Regions from separate parts of the Homo sapiens genome. Here all the other regions are linked to region 1. The links are contacts of gene promoters, found by promoter capture Hi-C in blood cells and fetal thymus (Javierre and others, 2016). All regions are on one chromosome and are shown on one strand. The core of a region is centred on a gene start or on the middle of the fragment in contact, and the rest is flanking DNA. Distances in the headings are between cores, read along the strand shown.

What was found. The method cuts DNA at HindIII sites, captures the fragments that hold promoters and counts their contacts. A CHiCAGO score of 5 or more calls a contact.
Region 2: a contact is called between a fragment that was not itself captured here and the fragment with the promoter of NDE1 in region 1, in 1 of 17 cell types (fetal thymus). The highest score is 6.6, in fetal thymus.
Region 3: a fragment that was not itself captured here is called in contact with the fragment with the promoter of NDE1 in region 1 in 1 of 17 cell types (fetal thymus); the score reaches 7.5 in fetal thymus.
Region 4: a contact is called between a fragment that was not itself captured here and the fragment with the promoter of NDE1 in region 1, in 1 of 17 cell types (neutrophils). The highest score is 5.2, in neutrophils.
Region 5: a contact is called between the fragment with the promoter of VPS35L here and the fragment with the promoter of NDE1 in region 1, in 1 of 17 cell types (fetal thymus). The highest score is 5.1, in fetal thymus.
Region 6: a fragment that was not itself captured here is called in contact with the fragment with the promoter of NDE1 in region 1 in 1 of 17 cell types (fetal thymus); the score reaches 10.6 in fetal thymus.
Region 7: a contact is called between the fragment with the promoter of RPS15A here and the fragment with the promoter of NDE1 in region 1, in 2 of 17 cell types (fetal thymus and neutrophils). The highest score is 14.2, in fetal thymus.

What each region holds. Positions count from the first base shown.
Region 1 is chr16:15,648,717-15,651,607 of GRCh38, forward strand. It overlaps NDE1 (nudE neurodevelopment protein 1), which reads left to right and starts at 1,529. Exons shown (of 9, transcript NM_017668.3): 1 at 1,529-1,578. RefSeq lists enhancers at 1,230-1,731, 1,732-2,231. The HindIII fragment of the contact is 10,572 bases long and covers 1-2,891 here.
Region 2 is chr16:10,743,634-10,746,524 of GRCh38, forward strand. It overlaps NUBP1 (NUBP iron-sulfur cluster assembly factor 1, cytosolic), which reads left to right and starts at 209. Exons shown (of 11, transcript NM_002484.4): 1 at 209-249; 2 at 328-432. The coding sequence starts at 231. RefSeq lists an enhancer at 18-67. The HindIII fragment of the contact is 1,448 bases long and covers 781-2,228 here.
Region 3 is chr16:10,935,951-10,938,841 of GRCh38, forward strand. It overlaps CIITA (class II major histocompatibility complex transactivator), which reads left to right. Exons shown (of 20, transcript NM_000246.4): 20 at 1-444. All of the region lies in intron 1 of DEXI (Dexi homolog), which reads right to left. Among named protein-coding and RNA genes, the nearest start is that of DEXI, 5.1 kb to the right of the region's middle. The HindIII fragment of the contact is 5,264 bases long and covers 1-2,891 here.
Region 4 is chr16:10,956,177-10,959,067 of GRCh38, forward strand. CLEC16A (C-type lectin domain containing 16A) reads left to right here. Exons shown (of 24, transcript NM_015226.3): 2 at 1,606-1,734. Among named protein-coding and RNA genes, the nearest start is that of CLEC16A, 13 kb to the left of the region's middle. The HindIII fragment of the contact is 8,463 bases long and covers 1-2,891 here.
Region 5 is chr16:19,554,218-19,557,108 of GRCh38, forward strand. It overlaps VPS35L (VPS35 endosomal protein sorting factor like), which reads left to right and starts at 1,486. Exons shown (of 31, transcript NM_020314.7): 1 at 1,486-1,529. The coding sequence starts at 1,513. RefSeq lists enhancers at 1,081-1,560, 1,120-2,082, 1,941-2,170. The HindIII fragment of the contact is 7,423 bases long and covers 1-2,267 here.
Region 6 is chr16:18,806,623-18,809,513 of GRCh38, forward strand. It overlaps SMG1 (SMG1 nonsense mediated mRNA decay associated PI3K related kinase), which reads right to left. Exons shown (of 63, transcript NM_015092.5): 63 at 1-2,891. Among named protein-coding and RNA genes, the nearest start is that of ARL6IP1, 6.5 kb to the left of the region's middle. The HindIII fragment of the contact is 3,418 bases long and covers 1-2,891 here.
Region 7 is chr16:18,788,852-18,791,742 of GRCh38, forward strand. It overlaps RPS15A (ribosomal protein S15a), which reads right to left and starts at 1,483. Exons shown (of 5, transcript NM_001019.5): 1 at 1,393-1,483; 2 at 130-267. The coding sequence starts at 262. ARL6IP1 (ARL6 interacting reticulophagy regulator 1) reads right to left here. Exons shown (of 6, transcript NM_015161.3): 6 at 2,818-2,891. RefSeq lists enhancers at 436-1,153, 1,091-1,720. The HindIII fragment of the contact is 4,087 bases long and covers 1-2,891 here.

The DNA.
Region 1 (2,891 bases), core at 279-2,778:
AAAATCGCTTGAATCTGGGAGGCAGAGGTTGCAGTGAGCCGAGATCGCACCATTGCACGCCAGCCTGGGCAACAAGAGGGAAACTCTGTCTCGAAAAGAAAAAAATTATTTTTTAATTTTAATTTGTTAGTGAACAATTAGGGTTGCTGTGAGAATTGTGCCTGGCACACACAGCCATTTAAAAATCACGATCTTCAGGCAGTGTGTGGTGGCTCACGCCTGTAATCCCAGGACTTTGGGAGGCCGAGGTGGGTGGATCACCTGAGGACAGGGATTCGAGAGCAGCCTGGCCAACATGGTGAAACCCCGTCTCTACTAAAAATATAAAAATTAGCCGGGTGTGGTGATGCGGGCCTGTGATCCCAGCTACTCGGGAGGCTGAAGCAGGAGAATTGCTTGAACTCAGAAGGCAGAGGTTGCAGTGAGTGGAGATCACGCCACTGCATTCCAGCCTGGGAGACAGAGGGAGATTTCATCTCAAAATAAATAAATAAACAAAATCAAGATCATTTAACAAATACATATATTGTACTTACTAAGTTCAAATTTCTGTTCTAAACGTTTTTACAAATGCTGTTAAGTCATTTAGTCCTCTGCATAATGTCGTTTGTTTGTTTGTCTGTTCTTTAAGACGGAGTCTTGCCCTGTCGCCTAGGCTAGAGTGCAGTGGTGTGATCTCGGCTCACTGCAACCGCCACCTCCCGGTTTCCCGTGATTCTCCTGCCTCAGCCTCCTGAGTAGCTGGGATTACAGGTGCGTGCCACCACATCCGGCTAATTTTTTGTATCTTTAGTAGAGACGGGGTTTCACCATGTGCCAGGCTGGTCTTGAACTCCTGACCTCGTGATCCACCCGCCTTGGCCTCCCAAAGTGCTGGGATTACAGGCGTGACCACCGCGCCAGACCCATAATGGCGTTTTATAGATGGGGAAACGGAGTCATAGAGGCTAAACAACTTTCCCAAGACCACACAGTTAGTAAGGGGCAGGACTAGGACTCAAAGCCAAGTTTATGACCAAATTCTGGTGCACTACGTTCTCCTGCTTCTGGAGAAGATAATGATGCTGAAGATTCTACTTTTGGTGTAAAGGAGTAGGAAGGGCACGGGGCACTGCTAGCTTCAGTGGGCCTGAATCTTTGTCTTTCCTTCTGATTTGGAGAAAGTGCAAGAATGGGAAAATGCAATCGAAGTGAAGGAGAGGCCGGCGTATTTTCCTGAAATGCGCGGCCCGCAAGCCCAAACCCGTTTCCCGGGTGTCCAGGCAGCGTTCTGCAGCATCTCCAATGCCCGCCAGCCCGCCGCAGCCCAGCGCCCGGCAGCCGGCGCCTCTCAAACCCCCTCCGGCCAGGAGCCTTCGCCGCTTGGCCGCGCCGCGCCCGGCCTGGGAAAAAAGTTTCCAAACGACGCTGCTCTGCGCTGATTGGCCGAGGCGGACGCGGTACCGTAGAGCAGCAGCCAATGGGAGGCGCCGACCGCAGGCTCCGGGGCGGGGGCGGGGTCCGGAGGGCCGGGGCCGCACCGCCCTTCGCAGCCGCCTCTGCCGCCGCCGCCGCGTTGGCCTCGCCGCCCCTGCTCGGGTAAGTGAGGCGCTGCGCGGGGCTGGGGTCGGGGTGGCTGTCCGGGGACCTCCACCGCGGCTGAAAAGCTCCTCTGCCCCGCCCCAGGATCCCGGGACCCCGGGCCACCGCCTGGCAGGGACCCCTACGCCCCTCGCTTGCGCGTCGCTTCCCGGCCGCCTGGACTCCCCCGGTCCCTGGGCTCCAAAATCCCGCCTCCCTGGAGCCTCCCGTCCTAAAAAGTTAGGCACTGAGTGCCTTGCCACCGGTGCGTTCCTCGCGCTGGCCCCTCGCCCTTGGCAACTTTGTTTCTCTTTCTGCGTTGGTCTCTCTCCCACCCCGTTGCCCTCTTCTCCTTCCGGGACTTCCTGGGTGGTTAAGCCTTGCCGGTCCCCAAACCCCGCTGCCAGGCTCCATCCTCTTTCTCCTCTTCCTTCCTCCCCATACTCCTCTCCTAGATGACCCTCGTTTCTTTTCTCTCTCTCTCCTATTCCTCCATCCTGCCACCCGCTTCTCTGCGACCCCAGACCCCTCGATTGCAGCGTTGCCCCTGCCCTCACACCCACTGTCCCGCCCCTGCAGGCCTCTTTCCAAAAACCCACCCTGCTCCCTCCCTCCGGGAACACGTTTGGGGCAGTCTGCTCTCCGCTTTGCTCCCGTCTCTGCCGCAGGACGGTTCAGGTTTCTTCTGACAGCACTTTGGGGAGGGATTGGGTAAAGGACGAAAATGCTTATTCCGCAGCTTGAGTGATGGCTGGGCTCACTGAGGACCTGAGTCTCTGAGGTCCTGGGAAACCCCGCTGTCACCTTGACACCGCTTTTGGGGAGGCGACTTTATCTTCTCCGAGCCATCTCAGGCTTTCTGCCTCCTGAGGGCCTGAGCTTCCTTGATTGCTTTGTCCGTGGTTACTACCAGGTTGTGCCTCTTAATTTCTACTTTGAGCCTCAGGCCCCTTTTAACTTTCTAAAGAAAAGGCCTTTGCAGCACGACCTAGGCAGGTTCATCATTTTTAGTTTTGTTATAGTGTATTCTAGCATAGGATGGCATTTTAGGACATGGGTCGGGTGTTTTGAAGATTAATTAGATCCCAGCTACTCCTAAAGCCTCTTGTTACCCGACCACCCCAGCCTCCATCACCTCGTTGGTATACAACCCGTTTTTTTTTTTTTTTTTTTGTTTTTGTTTTTGAGACAGAGTCTCACTCTCGCCCAGGTTGGAGTGCAGTGGTGCGATTTTGGCTCACTGCAACCTCCGCTTCCCGGGTTCAAGCGATTCTCCTGCCTCAGCCTCCGGAGTAGCTGGGACTACAGGTGCGTGCCACCACGCCTGGCTA
Region 2 (2,891 bases), core at 255-2,754, 4.9 Mb before region 1:
TCATGAAGAATGGCTTTGTTCTTAGGAGATGCACTGCAGAAGTATTTATGATAGGAAATCTCTGAAAAGGAACAGACGTTGAGTCCCAGTCTTTCGGCCCAAGGTTCGCGCGTGCGCACAGCCCCCTTTCCGAGACTTATTTCGCGCGGTCGGAGAATCAGATTGTGCCCACAAGGCGGAAATGTACGACAGCGGGTTCCGGTGACCACGAAGGCGGCAAAGGCGACGGAATGGAGGAGGTGCCTCACGGTAAGCTCGCGGAGGGGGCGTGGGTCGCGGGGCGAAAGTGTCGGGAGCTGCTCTAACTGTGGTCTTGTCTCTGCGCAGACTGTCCAGGGGCCGACAGCGCCCAGGCGGGCAGAGGGGCTTCATGTCAGGGATGCCCCAACCAGCGGCTGTGCGCTTCTGGAGCGGGGGCCACTCCGGACACGGGTGAGAAAAGGGCAAGGCCTCAACAGGAACTTAGAGGCGCAGGCCCGGAAAAGGCGGGGCGTGGGAGGGAGGGGGCGGGATCTGCAGAATGACTGACAGCGGCAGGCTAGAAGGTATTGTATTCGGAGAGGGGTGGGGCCCAGAAGGGGCGGGGCGTGGAAAGTGGGCAGGGTGAGGGCGGAGCTTGGAATGACTGACAGGAACGAGGCCTTTAGAAGGCGAGCGCGAAGGACCTGGCGCGGATGGAGGGTGGAGACTGACCGGCGCGGAGTCGAAAGGGACATTAATTAAGAGGGTCGGGGCCAGAGGTTTGAGTGACAATAACAGACCGCAGAGAAAAACGGGATAAGCTTCGAAGTCGGGGAGTCTTCGGACTTACATCCTGGCTCTGCCAGCTACTTTCTTGACACAATTTTCTTCCTTTTGAGGAGTGATTCTCCCACTCATTCAGCAGAAATGTGTTGATCGCCTCGTAGGTTTGGTGCTGTCCTGGGGACACAGCTGGGGATCAGGCGTGGTCACTGCTCTAGTGGAGTTTAGCTTTACTGGGGAAACAAACACGTGAGCTAGCAACTAAACCACCGCAGCTTTAAGTGCTGTGAAGCACAGATTCCAGGATGAGAGGACCCAGGGAGCCTGCTCAGAAGGACCTTAAAAAGCAGGAGGCAGGAGGACAATATTTTTTTTTCTTTTTTTTCCCCCTTTTTTTTTAGACAGAGTCTTGCTGTGTAGCCCAGACCAGAGTGCAGTGGTGTGATCTCGGCTCACTGCAACTTTCACCTCTCAGGTTCAAGCGATTCTCGTGCCTCAGTCTCCCGAGTACCTGGGACTACAGGCGCCTGCCACCACGGCTGGCTAATTTTTATATTTTTAGTAGAACCAGAGTTTCACCATGTTGACCAGGTTGGTCTCGAACTCCTGACCTCAAGTGATGCATCTGCCTGGGCCTCCCAAAGTGCTGGGATTACAGGCATGAGCCACTGCACCTGGCCAAGGGGGAGAATCTTGAAGGAGTTCAGAGAGAGACTTGGATTTGATTCTTGGATCCATGCGGTGTGACCTTCAGCAATAGTCCTAACCTCTCTGAGCTTCTGGTTCCTCATCAAAAATGGAGACAGGCCGGGTGCAGTGGCTCACGCCTGTAATCCCAGCACTTTGGGAGGCCGAGGCGGGTGGATGGATCACTTGAGGTCAGGAGTTCGAGACCAGCCTGGCCAACATGGTGAAACCTGTCTCTACTAAAAATACAAAAATTAGCCAGCATGGTGGTGCATGCCCGCCCTCGAGGCTGAGGTGGGAGGATCACTTGAACCCGGGAGGTGGAGGTTGCAGTGAGCTGAGATCGTGCCACTGCACTCCAGCCTGGGTGACAGAGTGAGACCCTGTCTCAAAGAAAAAAAAAAATGAAGAGAAAAATAGTTATCTCTGTCAATGCAATGGAGAGACTGAACTGAGCCTCAGTGGAGGTTTATTGGGCCAGAGCTTGAGGGCGTGCCCTGGAAAATACAAGTGACAGAAACATCTGTGGCCTGTGCTCGATGGAGTGGTTCCAGAAGGCTGGTGTTTATATATTTCATTAAAAGGGGAAAAAGCATGCAGGAAAAAGTGCAGTAGGCCTCGTGGCAGGTAGTTACATTCTTGTGAGGTTTTAATTCGTGCCCAGTATATCTACACTATTCAGAAAATAAAGTAAACATTCAAAAGAGGGAATAAAGGAAGAATTAATTAGGCAGACGTCTCAGGGTAGGAGAGGAAGGACTATCTCATCCCATCTTTGTTTGGCATGTGGGAGGATAAGCTTGTAATGGACATGGTCAGTGTGGCGTTTAACAGACATCAGTAATAGGGAAGGAGTTAGACTGAGGTTACAGTCCTAAAGTTACAGTTGGCATGTCCTTGTTTATGGGAGGATACTCATCTTCAAAGATTTAGGGGCCAGCAAAGGAGTTCCTTAGGAGCAACTTGTGAGGGCAGTCATCCCACAATGGATTGCATGGGGCCTTTGGCCTTTTGCAGGTGTCTGGTTAATGTAGAATGCTTTGACACAAGGTTGGGAAGTAACAGCTGTCTGTTGATGGGGAGGAGGACAGCAGTGTTGGGAGGTTTCCAGGCTTAACTTTCACTTGAGTTTGGCCAGTCATGAGACTTTTTAATTTCCTTTATACCTCGTGTATTGTTTTAAGGATTTGAAATAAGATAGTTTCATTGGCAGATACTTAGTATGTGCCTGCTGTCTATCAGAGTTTCTCAACCTCAGCACTGCTGACATTTGGGGCAGGATCACTCTTTGTTGTGGGGGGCTGTCCTGTGCATTGTAGGACATTTAGCACAATCTGGGCTGTACCCATTAAATGCCAGCAGTACCTCTCCTGTGACAATGAAAAGTGTCTCCAGGCTGAGCATGGTGGCTCACACCTGTAATTCCAACACTTTGGGAGGCCAAGGTGGGTGGATCACTT
Region 3 (2,891 bases), core at 233-2,732, 4.7 Mb before region 1:
TCTCCCCTTTTTATTGTTAAGGGACACTACTGGGACAATTTTTTTTTTTTTTCGTTTTGAGACAGGGTCTCGCTCAGTCACCCAGGCTGGAGTGCAGTGGTGGAATAATAACTCACTGCAGCCTTGAACTCCCGGACTCAAGCAATCCTCCTGCCTGAGCCTTCCGAGTAACTGGGACTATGGGCGTGTACCACAACACCTCGCTATTTTTTTTTTCCTACTTTTTGTAGAGACGGGGTCTCACTATGTTGCCCAGGCTGGTTTCAAACTCAAGTGATCCTTCCACCTCAGCCTCTATAAAATTTGAATAAAGTTGTAGATGAGATTGGTCATAGGATTGTATAGTGTATCAATATTAGATTTGCTGATTTTGACAACCCTACTGTGGTTATGCAAATTTGTCCTTGTTCTAAGGAAATAAATACTGAATTATTTAGGAGTAAAGGTGCATAATGAACCCATTTTCAAATGCTTATGAAAATTACACATATACACATGTGTGCATATACACAGGCATGCATATACAAACAGAGGGAAGAGCATGCACGTGTACATGAGCAAAGTGCTAACTGGTGCAACTGGTGAGTTTGGGCGGGCATTGTTTGTGCTCTTGCAACTTTTCTGTAAGTGTGAAATTACTTCATAACAGAGGTTTTTGTTTGTTTGTTTGTTTTTAATTCAGGAAAAAGTTGGAAGAGTGCGTATGAAATAGGCCTGGCAGAAACTATGAGCTGGTGTTCCAAGGTCGGGGATGGGGAGCCCTCACTGGAGGCACCCCTCAAACCCTCAGTGCTGTGGCCAGGGAACCGGGCTGGCAGTCTTAGTTGGCTTTGTTCCCTCGGCCTCCACTTCCCCATTCTGTGCCTCCATTTATTTGTGAGACAGGGATAAAGAGGTCTGCCACTTTTATTGTGATCTTAGGTTTCCCAAAAGCCGAGTATGCTTTCAGAAGTTCTGGGAGGAAAGCTAGCAGATAAACCAGAAATATGAATATCCAAATTGAGAGAAGCCCTCACTTTCTTAGTTCGGCAAAACAGACACATGAGCTGTAAGTGGGGCAGACCCTGCCTGTTTCTTGGCTGAAATCTCCAGTTTGTATAATTCAGGGCTAAGAGAGCAGGACTCTTGACATCTCACTGTCTTGAGACACATACTGGGGTTTTCTCCTGTCTGAAGACGCAGCTGGCACCAATGTACCCTATGGCCAAGGACCTTCTGGGTGAGCCTCATGTCAGGAGCAGAGCTGGAGAGGTGGCCAGGCCTGGGGGTATACTTGCCTCCCTGTGTCACCATTGTCTGTCTCTTGCTTAGATGACAGCCACAGCTTCCTGGCCTGGTTTCCTGCATCCGCCCTGACCCCTGGCTGTGGGATCTCCCATAACTCAAATCTGACTGTGTCCCTGTGGAAGGTTTGGGTTTCTGACCTGGGCAGCTCTATGTCCGGCACAGGGGTTCTGCTGATAGCACAGGCCACAGATTGGCAAGGAGGGACCAGGTTAGGAAGGAGCAGCTGTGGTTCCTAGTTGGGAGATAACTGAAGCCTAGGAAATCCTGGAATAAGATAGACCAATGCATCGATAACCCTCAGCTCCAAATCTGAGCTGCACCAGGACAAGCTGACTCTGGTGGCAACGTTCTCCAGTCTCTGCATTTTCAGCTCGCTGTGTGCCAAGAGAGGGCTGGCAGGTACCAGCAGCTTTCACTTTCATTAGGAACCGGGACGAATAATCCAACTGAGCTGCCTCTGCACCAGAACTGCTGGGACGTGAAGACTCTCCCTGGCTCCCAGGCCAGCCACTGCAGCCCTTTCTCCTGGGAAGGAGGGAGCTCCCGATTCCCCATTCCCTGCTCCTGGGCAACAATTAACACTCTAGGAAAACCACAGAGCCGGCTATCCAGGGTTCTGGTGCCCTGGGGACCACAGGGCAGCAAGAAAGTTCTCCTAAGGGTCCTGGGGCTGGGAAGGCAGAGTGGGAAGTCTCCCCCAGCTAGGCTAGACCTGGACCTCCCTGGCACTCAGGCAGCCTGTCCTCTTCTGCTCACAGGATATAAATATTCATGCATGAGTATAGGTGCAGGTTTGTACATTTGCAAGGGCATGGGTATAACACGCTTTCCATTGTATCCGACTATGAATATGAGTGGTTAATATTAATACATCTCTTACTATATACAAGGAGATCTAAGTGCTTTATGTATATCTCACCTAATCCTCACAACAAGGGAGATTTTCATTATTTCCATCTTCTAGAAGAGGAAACCAAAGTACAGGGAGGTTAAGCAGCATGCCCAAGGTCACAGCTACCCTGGGATGTGAACCCAGGGCCCTGGCTCTTAACCATGACCCTAATACTGCCTCCTCAAGTAGGTGCTCAGCAAATGTTTGAGGAACTGAATTATGTGGGTCCACACATAAGAGAAAAAAAAAAAAAAGAGGGAGCAAAAGTAGGTGCACCTGTTCATCTTGAGATTCATCCTGGGCCCCACTGTGTGACATGCTCCACGCCCTTAGTCACTGTTTCCTGGATTGGCGTGTGGGGAACACATGTGACCACATGAGAATGGCTGAGAAAGAGCAGGACTGACTACCGGCGTTCCCCTGCTTATGGAAAGGGGCCTGGAGATGAGGCTCGGTCAGATCATCTTGAGGTCTTTCCTGGCGGCTTCCCTGCTGCTAGCTACCCCTCTCATACCCTGGGGTTCTGAGCTTCCTCGGCACTTGGGGGCAAGGCCTCCTTGGCTTGGATTTGAGGGTGGGGAGGAGGGAAGGCTGTGCATGGCTTCCACCACTTCTCCAGGCCTCCCCACTTCCCAGGGTCAGGCCCTGACACCCCGAGAGCTTTGCAAGGGTGTCCCTGAGAGATATTTCCTGGTGTTTCTGCTTAAACAGC
Region 4 (2,891 bases), core at 279-2,778, 4.7 Mb before region 1:
TTTGAGGGCTCTTCTAATTACTGCATATTAAAAATTACATGCAATTTCTAATAAATTAATTAAATGCTTGATTATACTAGGTCTTTAAAGCATAACAAACAGTATTCGTAAATAAACCCTAGCCCCTTTAAATAGCAGATTGTTCTTTATTGTTTCATCTTCAGGCTGCTTCCTCTTTATGTCTTACCCGTTTTTAGAGATTGTAGATGGGACAATCCTATCTAGACGTTTCCTTCCTTGCTCTCACCAGACCCCCAGCCCTGAAAACTGAAGTTAGCCATAAAAGAAATCAGGAGAGGAGGGCCCTTTTCCTGAGTCACTTCCTCTTGGTGTCTGCTTTTCCTTCTCAAGCCTGAGCTCCCTTGACAGGTGAAGTTACCTGGGGCTGTGGGCCCTGGAGAAGCCATCTTAAAAGCCGTGCCCGGTGGCACTCCCAGGGCATCCAGCTAGGCTTCTGGTCCCCGCGCTGCTCAGGACTGGCCTCGGTGATTCTTTTGGTCTCCCCCACCAGCAAAGAGGCCTTGAGGACTGGAAGGTGTCTACCTGTCTCAGCTCCAGCACCTGGCATTCAGGCCTGTTTGGGTAGATGAAGTACAGCACCATAGCCTCTGCAGCCCTTATTTATTTATTTATTTATTTATTTAGACTCTCGCTCTGTCACCCAGGCTGGAGTGCAATGGTGTGATCTCGGCTCACTGCAACCTCCACCTCCCAGGTTCAAGCAATTCTCCCTGCCTCAGCTTCCAGAGTAGCTGGGATTACAGACTTCGCCACCACACCCAGCTAATGTTTGTATTTTTAGTAGAGACAGGGTTTCGCCATGTTGACCAGGCTGGTCTTGAGCTCCTGACCTCAGGTGATCCACCCACCTTGGCCTCCCAAAGTGCTGGGATTACAGGCATGAGCCACCGCTCCCAGCCAGCCCATTTAACTCAGTGAATTTAACAATCTGTTCTCAGCAAATAAGACCATTGCCCTTGGGCTGCAAACCACCCAGATCATTTGAGCCATAAGTTCTGATGGGCTCACTGCACTTGAGAAGGATTGTGAGCATTCCAAGGGGAATTGCATGTGATTTTTGTCCCAGCAACTGCTGTGGGACCCAGCCTTCCTAAGCTGTGGCTCCATCTCTCTAAACCTCAACATTAGCCTGGCTGCAGGCCCCGTGTTAGGCATCCAGCCTGAGCTGTATGTCCCCACTTGCTCTGAAGGCATCAACATGATGGGAAGCATATGAAACAGGTGGCTACTTGCTCTTCTCTCAGTCCTGCTGAATCTGAATTTCCGAGGGGGCTCCAGGAGCCCCCACTTGATTCAGTTCTCCGGGTGGTTCTCTTGCACACTGCAGTTTGAGAGTAGTTGACTTCAAGGGTTTGACGATTTTCTTGTCTCCGTCTGGGTTGGTGTGTCCTTGGTTTAACCCTTCAAAGCATTGTCTGCTATTTTTCTGGGGTTGTGAGTTACATCTAATCTGAATGGGAAATTGCATTACCCAAACCTGAAAAAGCATTGCTGCATTGTCTCCAAAATATTGCTAATGGTCATGGAACTTGGCTTGCATTTCAGTTGGTAACCTTTAATTTCCTTTTCTCTCATTTCTCTCAGGTATCTGTACCACGTTTTGACCAAAAACACCACAGTCACAGAACAGAACCGGAACCTGCTAGTGGAGACCATCCGTTCCATCACTGAGATCCTGATCTGGGGAGATCAAAATGACAGCTCTGTATTTGAGTAAGGGTTTCTAATGATTGCTGTTCTTTGATTATTCTTCTTTGAATGTTTTTCTAAATGTATACTATGAGTCATTCTGGATGATGTCAGGATTTGACGCTAATTTGATCTTGCCTAGATATCTATCTCTGTCTAGCTGTAAAAAAAAAAAAAAAATGCCCTTGAAGCACTATAGAAATGCAAGCCAAAAATGGGGAAGTTATGGAAATGAGTGTCTCTAGAAAACCTGAAAATGTCATGGGTAATTTTCCTTCAGGTTGTGTCTGATTATTTTCCCAAAGGAAGGAGAACATGTCTGGTGGTTAGATTTGACATGAACAGAAGGCCTGTGCCCTGGGGGAGTCCCTGAGGGCTCCCAGTTACCATGTTTACTGATGACCAGGCACAGGGCTGAGCTCCTGATGAGATGGTCCACCTAAGTTTCCCACCCACCCCATGGTAGAGGCCCTGTTGGTGTCCCCTTTTTTGCTCAAGGTCACATAGCTGGTAAGCGGTGGAAAAGTGACACACCCAGAATCAGTGAGGGGTCCCGCAACTCACCACTTCCTAGGTGAGCAGTCCTCAGCCAGGCTCTTCATCTCCCTAAGCCTCAGTTTCTTTACCTTTAAAAGAGAGAGAAAAAGTTCTCTTTGTCTAGTGCCTGGTACAGGAATAAATGATAGCAAATGATAAAGACAGACGTGCCTCACTGGACAGTTAAAAAGCAAGGGCCGCCAGGCGCGGTGGCTCACACCTGTAATCCCAGCACTTTGGGAGGCTGAGGCAGGAGGATCGCTTGAGCCCAGGAGTTTGAGACCAGCCTGGGCAACATACAGAGACCTCGTCTCTACGTATAATTAAAAAATTAGTCATGCATGGTTGTGTGTGCCTGTGTTCCCAGCTACTCAGAAGGTTGAGGTGGGAGGATTGCCTGAGCCCAGGAGGTCCAGGCTGCAATGAGCCATGATCTTGCCACTGCACTCCAGCCTGGGTGACAGAGTGAGACCATGTCTCAAAAAAAAAATAGCAAGGGCTGTTAACTGTGAACTACCTCCCTAATAGATCTGCCTTGATGTCTTAGTGCAGAAGGATTTGGGGCTGGGTTATGACAACCACTAAACACGGGTGTGTGTGTGTGTGTGTGTGTGTGTGTGTGTGTGTGTCTGTATTATAAATAT
Region 5 (2,891 bases), core at 236-2,735, 3.9 Mb after region 1:
GGAAGGAGAGGGAGAAAAGAGAATGCGAAGGTTGAAGCTCACATCAAAGCTGTTAATTTGCACAACTTTAAGAATCCTCCTCTTGTTACTGCCTAATCATGCAGTGTGAGCCTAGGAAAAGGCTCCTCACCTTGACCTCTTATTGAGATGTTGCATGTGATAACATGCATGGCTGTATGGGAAGAGCTCCTTGCTTTCCCGTGGCCACCCTTTAACCCTTGTTCACTTCCAGTGTTGGGAATAGCAGGTACGAGTGGATATACTTTCCTACTCATACTGAGCTGAACACTGGAGGGCCCGTTCTGGAGATGATCCTTTTCCCTGTCATAGGTCACCATCTCATGAACAACCACAGACCACCACCCCCGAATGAAAAGTAAGAGTTATAAAAACATCGAATGCTTTCTCTCTAAGGGACCATAATGGATATCTAAGTAAGTTATAAAAGTAATAATTAAAAAAAAAATTTTTTTTTGAGATGGAGTTTCGCTCTTGTAGCCCAGGCTGGAGTGCAATGGCGCAATCTCGGCTCACTGCAACCTCATCCTCCCGGGTTGGAGCAATTCTCCTGCCTCAGCCTCCCGAGTAGCTGGGATTACAGGCGCCCGCCACCATACCCAACTAGTTTTTGTATTTTTTAGTAGAGACGGGGTTTCACCATGTTGGCCAGGCTGGTCCCGAACTCCTGACATCAGGTGAACCACCCACCTCGGCCTCCCGAAGTTCTGGGATCATAGGCCTGAGCCACCGCTCCCGGCCTAAAATAATTTTTAAAAACGTTCTGTGGTCGAAATGGATATCCACCTTCCTAGAAACACTGCTTTGCCAAGTTGGACGAAATGCGAACCCTAATTTCCCCACGTGCATTAGCTGTAGTCAATCATATTAGATCTAGGGCAGCCCTCGGTTGCTAGTCGTGGGAAGGGCATTCTGCAAGTGTCTAAAACCGCCCGCAAAGCAGTGGGTAAAGCAGCGGCCTAGAGGGGGCATGGCTGTCCCACGCCAAACAGCGTATTAGCCGCAAAACCAGGTACTGGCTGAACCTCAGTTTGCGTCTTCGCTCCGCCGCCTTCTGGAGTCCTTTCTGCCCCTAGAGGACGCAGGTGAGCTAAGCAGCAGTCATGCCCTTTACCATCATGACGCCCGCAGGCGGGACCACCCGGCACTGTAGACAGCTGCCCTTTACAATCATGACTCATAGAAACTACGGCACTCTGGCCGTGGCCGACGTTGCTCCTCCGAAGCATGGCGCCGGCGGGAGTTGTAACCCGGGCTGTCCGGAGCGGGGAGCTGCCCCTCACAAGCATGGCGTCAGCTGAAAATGAAGCCTGTGCTGTGCGGAGCGTCGCCTGCCCCTCACAAGCATGGCGTCTGCAGAAGGTGCTGTGCGGCCGCTGCGGGGCGGCCAGCTGCCCTTCACAAACATGGCGGCCGAGGGGTGCGGGGAGTGGCGGGGTAAGGATGGGAAGCCGAGCAGACGGCCCCAGAACAAGCGGTCATGTGACTGGGAAGATGGCCGTCTTTCCTTGGTAAGGAAGCAGCGGCGGGTGGGCTTTGGAGAGGGGCTGTCCTTACTTGTGATGGGGTCGGCCTGGGTCTGAGAGTGTGAATTCCTCTCTGTCGGGTTCTGGTGGTCGACCGGCCACCCCCAAGTTGTCTTGACCGTAGAATCCCTGGCCGCTACCGCGGTCCAGCGGAGCAATCTGAAGCCAGACTGGCGGGTTCTTGGTTCTCTCCCCGTCTGCTGCCTCTCTGCGCCTTCCACGGGCCCCTGTCCATTCATTCCCTAAAGAAAACTTGAGTTTCCAGGCTTCCGCGTCCCCAGAAGTTGGCGCGGGTTCTGGGGTCGCTGGATGAGGGTAATGGTGGACTCAGCTTTTAAAGTCTGGACGAGTCGGGAGATCTGGCTGTTGGTCAGTTTCCTCAGCTCCTCTGTTCACCTGGAGACTTGCTTTTCTCATCTGTAAAATGGCCGCCATTCATCCTATCCTAGGCACAGCCCTCAGACTTATTCCTTGGCCTCAAGGAGCTGACAGTATAATGGGGCAGACGCACAGTAGAGGGATGTCTAAAGAAGGCATTCGGATGAGGCACCAAGAAGGGAGTGATTATCCCCACCAGGGGGCTAGGGGAAGGCTTCAGAGAGGAGGAGTTAAATTGGGTCTTGGAGGATGAATAGGAGTCCACCATAGGGAGGGCGTGGCGTGTGCCTGGTTGGCAGGCCCGTAGGTCCCTTGTGGTTGGAGTAGCTAGGAATGAGTGACTGAAGCTTCAGGGTTCAGCAGGTGGTATGTGTGTGAGTGAAGAACTTGAGGAAGTTGTGTTGTTGATGATAGTGGGATTTGGGGACGGGGAATCTCTCCTGCATCTCAGAAAGCGAGATAATTTACTTTCTCTTCAAATGATGTGAAGTAGCTTAGATTAAATGAGCAAATGAAAGACCTTAGAAATAATCAGGTACAACCTTCTGCTTTTGAGCTTGATAAACACTTCATTTTGTCTTATTCCTTTCATTTGCCCAACACTTAAGAGACTGCTTCCTTGACACGCTACATCAGCATTGAATGCCTCTGAGCACTTCCACACCCTGAGGTTTTTTTTTTTTTTTCAGTTAATAGTCATGCTGGCTGGGTATGGTGGCTCACGCCTGTAATCCCAGCACTTTGGGAGGCCGAGGCTGGCGGATCACCTGAGGTCAGGGGTTCGAGACCAGCCTGGCCAACATGGCGAAACCTAATCTCTACTAAAAATACAAAAATTAGCTGGGCTAAATTAGTGGTGGCACGCACCTGTAATCCCAGCTACTTGGGAGGGTGAGGCAGGAGAGTCGCTTGAACCTGGGAGGCGGAAGCTGGAGTGAACCGAGATCATGCCACTGCACTCCAGCCTGG
Region 6 (2,891 bases), core at 104-2,603, 3.2 Mb after region 1:
TAAAGACAGCAAAAAACTTAAGATTGAACTTCAATTTCCAAGGGTACTTTGAAGAGGTTGTTTGTAGGTTATTCTGTACCCCCTGATTCTTAAAGAAAGTGGAGGAGAGGGGGAGGCGACAGAGGAATGGAGGGAAAGGGGGAGGCAAGAGAGAGAAACAGGAGAGGATCCCTGGTTTTCCACAGGTATTTTATCAAAAATGTATGACTTCATAACTACAGCACTCTAACTTTTCTCAGTCTAACTGCTGAGGTCTCTTACGAAAGTTCAAATGGCAAGTCACCTTGTAGAATGACTTAACAGAGGAAGCCAAACTATACAGACCAGGGCCTTGTCCAGAGTGCAGTAAGGAGCAGGCTTTTGAAGTCATCTATTACATCTGCCTTACAACCAAACCCACTGTGTATGCCACATTATTCTTGGAGGGACCACTTTAAAACAAAAGTGATGGATAATTTACCAGAGGCACATGCTTTTGAAGTAAAGCTGTTTTTTGTTTTTGCTTGAGTAAGGTGCCAGGTACCTCTGAAGCCTGAAAACACAGGCAATAAAATTCACCTATTTATCTTCTTTACCAAAGAGAAAGCAATTTCTGAATACTATCTATAGTGCTAAACTAATGTGAACTGACTATCATTGCGATAAAAGTTTTTCCTTATGATGACAATAAAGAATGTTGCTGAAAGACTTTAATCTTGAGAGAGCAGAGGTAATGTGATGAATGTAATTTGCTCCCAGAGCCTCTAGAAAATAAAGCAGTGTGCAAAATACAATATGGCATTATTATTCCAGCTAGGTTTTTTGCGAAAATAAGGTTCCAAATGAATGAAGAAAACAAAATTTGATGCGCTAGGTTCCTTAACTTGCTATTGGACACATGGGTATTTCAAAAAAATCCACCGTGCCTACAATACTTGTTAAAGTACCAAAAAAGCACTGATACTGAAACACATTCTTTCATGGGTACTTAACGATTACAGATTAACGTGGCAATCAGAATACAAAAAAGGCCCAGAGCTATGTGGAATTTTTTCCTTAATACCTTTCAAGTTTGTCTGTGAAGACGGCAACTAGAAAGTGACCACTGTCCTAATCTCTAAAATGCAGGGAAAATGTACTCAAACAATTTTTTTTTTTATCTAGTCATTTATTTTTGACACAGAGTCTAGCTCTGTTGCCCAGGCTGGAGTGCAGTGGCACAATCTCGGCTCACTGCAAGCTCCGCCTCCTGGGTTCACGCCATTCTCCTGCCTCAGCCTCCCGAGTAGCTGGGACTACAGGCGCCCGCCACCACGCCCGGCTAATTTTTTTTGTATTTTTAGTAAAGACGGGGTTTCACCGTGTTAGCCAGGATGGTCTCGCTCTCCTAACCTCATGATCCGCCCGCCTCGGCCTCCCAAAGTGCTGGGATTACAGGCGTGAGCCACTGTGCCCAGCCAACAATTAAGATTTTAATTGTGTTCTATTTTGTATTGATACTTGATTTTAAGAACCCTATTCTAGTCTGGGTTTTTATTTTGGATCAGCAATTTAGCTTACACAGTCAGTACTGAAATGCAATGCTAAATTTAAGGAAACCTTGATCATGAATTCACTATAATGTATTACTGAATAGCAAGCTATTAAAATTGTGCAAAAAGTAAAGCACTTCACAGACTAATAACTGAACTTAATAAAAGATGTTGGTGGATCTCATTTTCACTGTTTCATGTACATGTCCTAAAATGCCAAGTAAATTAAACAACTTTTAATTTACTAAGTGTAAATTAAAAGTATCAAATGAAAAACATGAATTAAAAAAATTTCAGTCTACCTCCACCAGAACATCACTTTATTGTTAATCTATCATCAACAATGTAAAACTCTAATAGATACTCTATCTTGGTTTTTAAAAAGGTAAAAGATTACACTGGATTAGCTACTTTCTATGAAAGAAACTACAGCTATCACAGAAGAGGGAAAATTTGAATGACCTCCAAAAAAAATGCACACTATAAGCAAAAGGGAGTGTACATTAAATCAAATGTCTGTTAGATTCATTACTTTTGAATGCACAGTGACAATTCTGGAAACTGTACATGATAGAATCACAGAAATGACTTAAATAACCGGAATTACATTTTGTGTGTGATCATCAGACCTTTAAACAATCCTTGAATTTTCCATGTTATCAGAAGTTGTTAACAGCATCGAGACGGAAGTATATGAAATATAAGGACTGAAATAAAAGTGAATTTGAAAGATGGCTAATCTACTAGATTAGGTAAAGGGGGAACGGGTAAGTGGTGGGGAGGAGTAGGGAACGATGGGGTGGTTTTTTTCCCTTCATTTCAGAAGTAAGTTCTTCTACTGTAGTGTATCTGTTACATAGCTCTCCATTTTCAGTCCATTTCTGAAATTCATATCGCATAGCCTTTAGCCTTTTTCTACTTACTGGTCAACCCAACCAGTACTGTTGCCAAGCAACAAGTGTTACACGAGAATCTGAATGCATCAAATCTTCCTTGGCTGTGATTTCTTCGCGACCCCAGTTTTCTCTGTTTCTGAGTGGGGTTTGTTTTTTTCCTGGATTGTACACACAGGGTCAGGTGGAATGGAGTTCCAAATCACTCTGTGCTCCGCGGCATCCCGATTTCTTTCCGCAGCTAACCTCCCGACACGTCTGCTGCTGTTCTGTGGCAGAAAGACAATCTCCGTGTTCAGGCGGTGAGCTTGCTTTCCTTCACCCTTGACCCTGGGGTTGCAGGCCATGGTGTTGGGCGTATCCCTGAGTGCAGCTGTCCTGCGGGATTCACTTCCTAGTGCACCGAGATTTCCTAGGTTTCCTCAGAGTAAGCCCCCAGTTGCATCACCACCGACTGTGGTGTGGCTTTGGATGCCTGAGGCTGAGT
Region 7 (2,891 bases), core at 233-2,732, 3.1 Mb after region 1:
CCCACAGGTCAATTGCATTCGTTCTCAGGTATGACAGACATACTTTGGTCCCCCATAATTAATTTCTACAGGACTGATTTCTTAGAGAGTCTCACATGAAAACATAAAACACAGCGGCAGCAGACTTACCATGCTTCATCATCACAGTGAGAAACCGGACGATGACTTTGGAGCACGGCCTAATAAGCACCTGGCGTTTGCCTCTCTTTTCGGCATTGTTGATACTCTTGAGAGCATCTGCCAGGACATTCATGCGCACCATTGTGGCTGTTCAAGGAAGACAAAACAGGAGGTTTTACTGGCATTGCCAACATCAACAGACACCAACCATTACACTGCGGAAGTATCCTTTCCTTTCTGGCCCCACCTTGGCGAAGTTTTCTCAAGTCTAAGCAGGCTGCTTCTCCATTTCCCACCACCCAGGAAAATTCCTATTTACTACGGTTGTTGAAAACAGGTTATCGGGACGTCAGCCTGCACATTTTGAAACTCATTCATTCACTAACCACTCTTCTTCGAATCGTGCCACACACCAACGTCTGGAGATAATAAAATGTGGGACAAAATCCACTTGACACAAGACAACGTGAGAACTGGCAGAAACTGCCAGCTACCGGAAGGAAAACATCGGGTATAGTCGATCAGTGATTCAGAACAGAAGCAGAGTATCATCGGCAACATTTTCCAAATTGCTGAAAATCAGCAGATTCCATACTATTAACATTGTACTTTAAATCAGTTCACTCTCACCTACAATGAACACATCTAACTATTAAACATCCATCTTCGTGCCATTTAAAATTGCGTCCAACAGCAAGAGCCACAGTGGCAAACAGAAACATTTTACATGCTTGTCAGACTGGACTCTCTTCTAATGGGCAAGAACCGCACACTACACTGAAGTTTTGAAAGACCAAAGTGCCAATAGTAAAGAGTAGAACTTAAATTCCTTAAGTTCAAAAGTGTCTAAAGAAAAACTCTGCGGCCCAGAAGATCCAAGTTGGCACCCAGCAAACTGCCAACCCCGGCACGATGCAGCTTTTACCTGCTGGGTGGCCTCAGCCTCCCAAGCTCCCAGCGCGGCCGCAGCAGTGAGAAGCTGCACGGCCCACCAGCCCCGATGTTGCCCGCCGCCCGGGGCCAAGGCGCTGCCTCAGCACTAAAGGGAGATCCAGACGCTGCGGCCCGAACCGGAGCTACCGCCTAGCTGGGCAGTCGAAGGCTCCGGCTCCCGCCCGCGCTGCGGCCTGCACCCCACGGACCGGGATCCCCTGAGTGCACAGTCTGGGGCGCCCAGCCATGGCTCTCCTCTATGCCTGTCCAGGAACCGGCAAGGCCAGGATCCTCGGCCAAGGTGGGGACCAGCCTCCTCGCAGGACACCGAGACCGAACCTTAGATTGCAGGATGGCGCCGATGGCAGACGGATGAAATTGGAGCTCTCAGAGAGTGCTACTCACCGGCGCGGAAAGATGGCGGAAAGAGGACGGGAGGGGAGAGCGCACGGAGTTATGGGAAGCGGGAGAGCTATCGCGAGACTTTCAAAGGCCCGGCAAAAACAAGGACCGCCTAGGAGAAGGACGAGGGTGAGGGAAAGGCGGAGCCTCCTCAGGGGTTGGCAGTTGAGAGTCGATGGAATCGACCTCCCCCGGTGGGGCCTGGGAGAGGCAAGGTGAGCCGTTCGTTGGAGGTTCGTCTACATTTTTTTTTTTTTTTTGAGACAGTTTCGCTCTTGTAGCCCAGACTGGAGTGCAGTGGCGTGATCTCGGCTCACTGCAACCTGCGCCTCCCGGGTTCAAGTGATTCTCCTGCCTCAGCCTCCTGAGTAGCTGGAACTACAGAGATGCGCCACCACGCCCGGCTAATTTTTGTATTTTTAGTAGAGACGAGGTTTCCCCAAGTTGGCGAAGATGTTCTTGATCTCCTGACCTTGCGATCCGCCCGCCTCGGCCTCCGAAAGTGCTGGGATTACAGGCGGGAGCCACCGCGCGGGCCTTAATTTTTATTTTAGTTTACTTTTGATAAGGAGTCTCGCTCTGTCGCCCAGGCTGGAGTCCAGTGGCGCGATCTTGGCGCACTGCAGCCTCCGCCTCCCGGGTTCAAGCGGTTCTCCTGCCCCAGCCTCCAGAGTACCTGGGATTACAGGCGCCCGCCATCACACCCGGCTAATTTTTGTATTTTTAGTAGAGACGGGGTTTCACCATGTTGGCCAGGCTCGTCTCAAACCCCTGACATCAAGTGATCTGCCCACCTCGGCCTCCCAAAGTGTTGGGATTACAGGCGTGAGCCACCACACCCGGCTAAAAATTTTTTTTTAATTAAAAAGTTAAGTTCAGACAAAAGTCACCCAACAGTTGTTTACTGAGCACCCATGTACCAGACGCTAGCAAGGCCCTGGGGTACGAGGTGCCCACACAGGCACCATTTAGCCAGTTCTGTCCCTGCCGGTTCTTCCAGCTTCGTCCTCTCTCACACGTCAATGCCCCTGCTCATTCGTTGCATTTCCTCTTCCCTCTAGCATGGTACCTGGATATTTGCTAAATAAAACTTAAACCTTTTATTTTTGTTCTTTTTTAAAATTTTTCCTAGACAGGGTCCTGCTCTGTTGCCCAGGCTAGAGTGCAGGGGTACACTCAGCTCAATGCAACCTCAAACTCATGGACTCCAGTGAACCTCCTGCCCAGGTCTCCCAAAGTGGTGGGATTACAGGTAGGGTACCTTATAGACATCTAAGGACCACACAGGGTACTTCATTAATCAGATTCATAAATCCAATCATAAATATTATATTGGCTAAGTTATAAAGAAAGTGAGACATGAAGATTCCAGCTTTTTTTATTTTTTCCCCTTTTACACAAAACAAAGTAGAAGAAATAATACAGGATTAAAACTG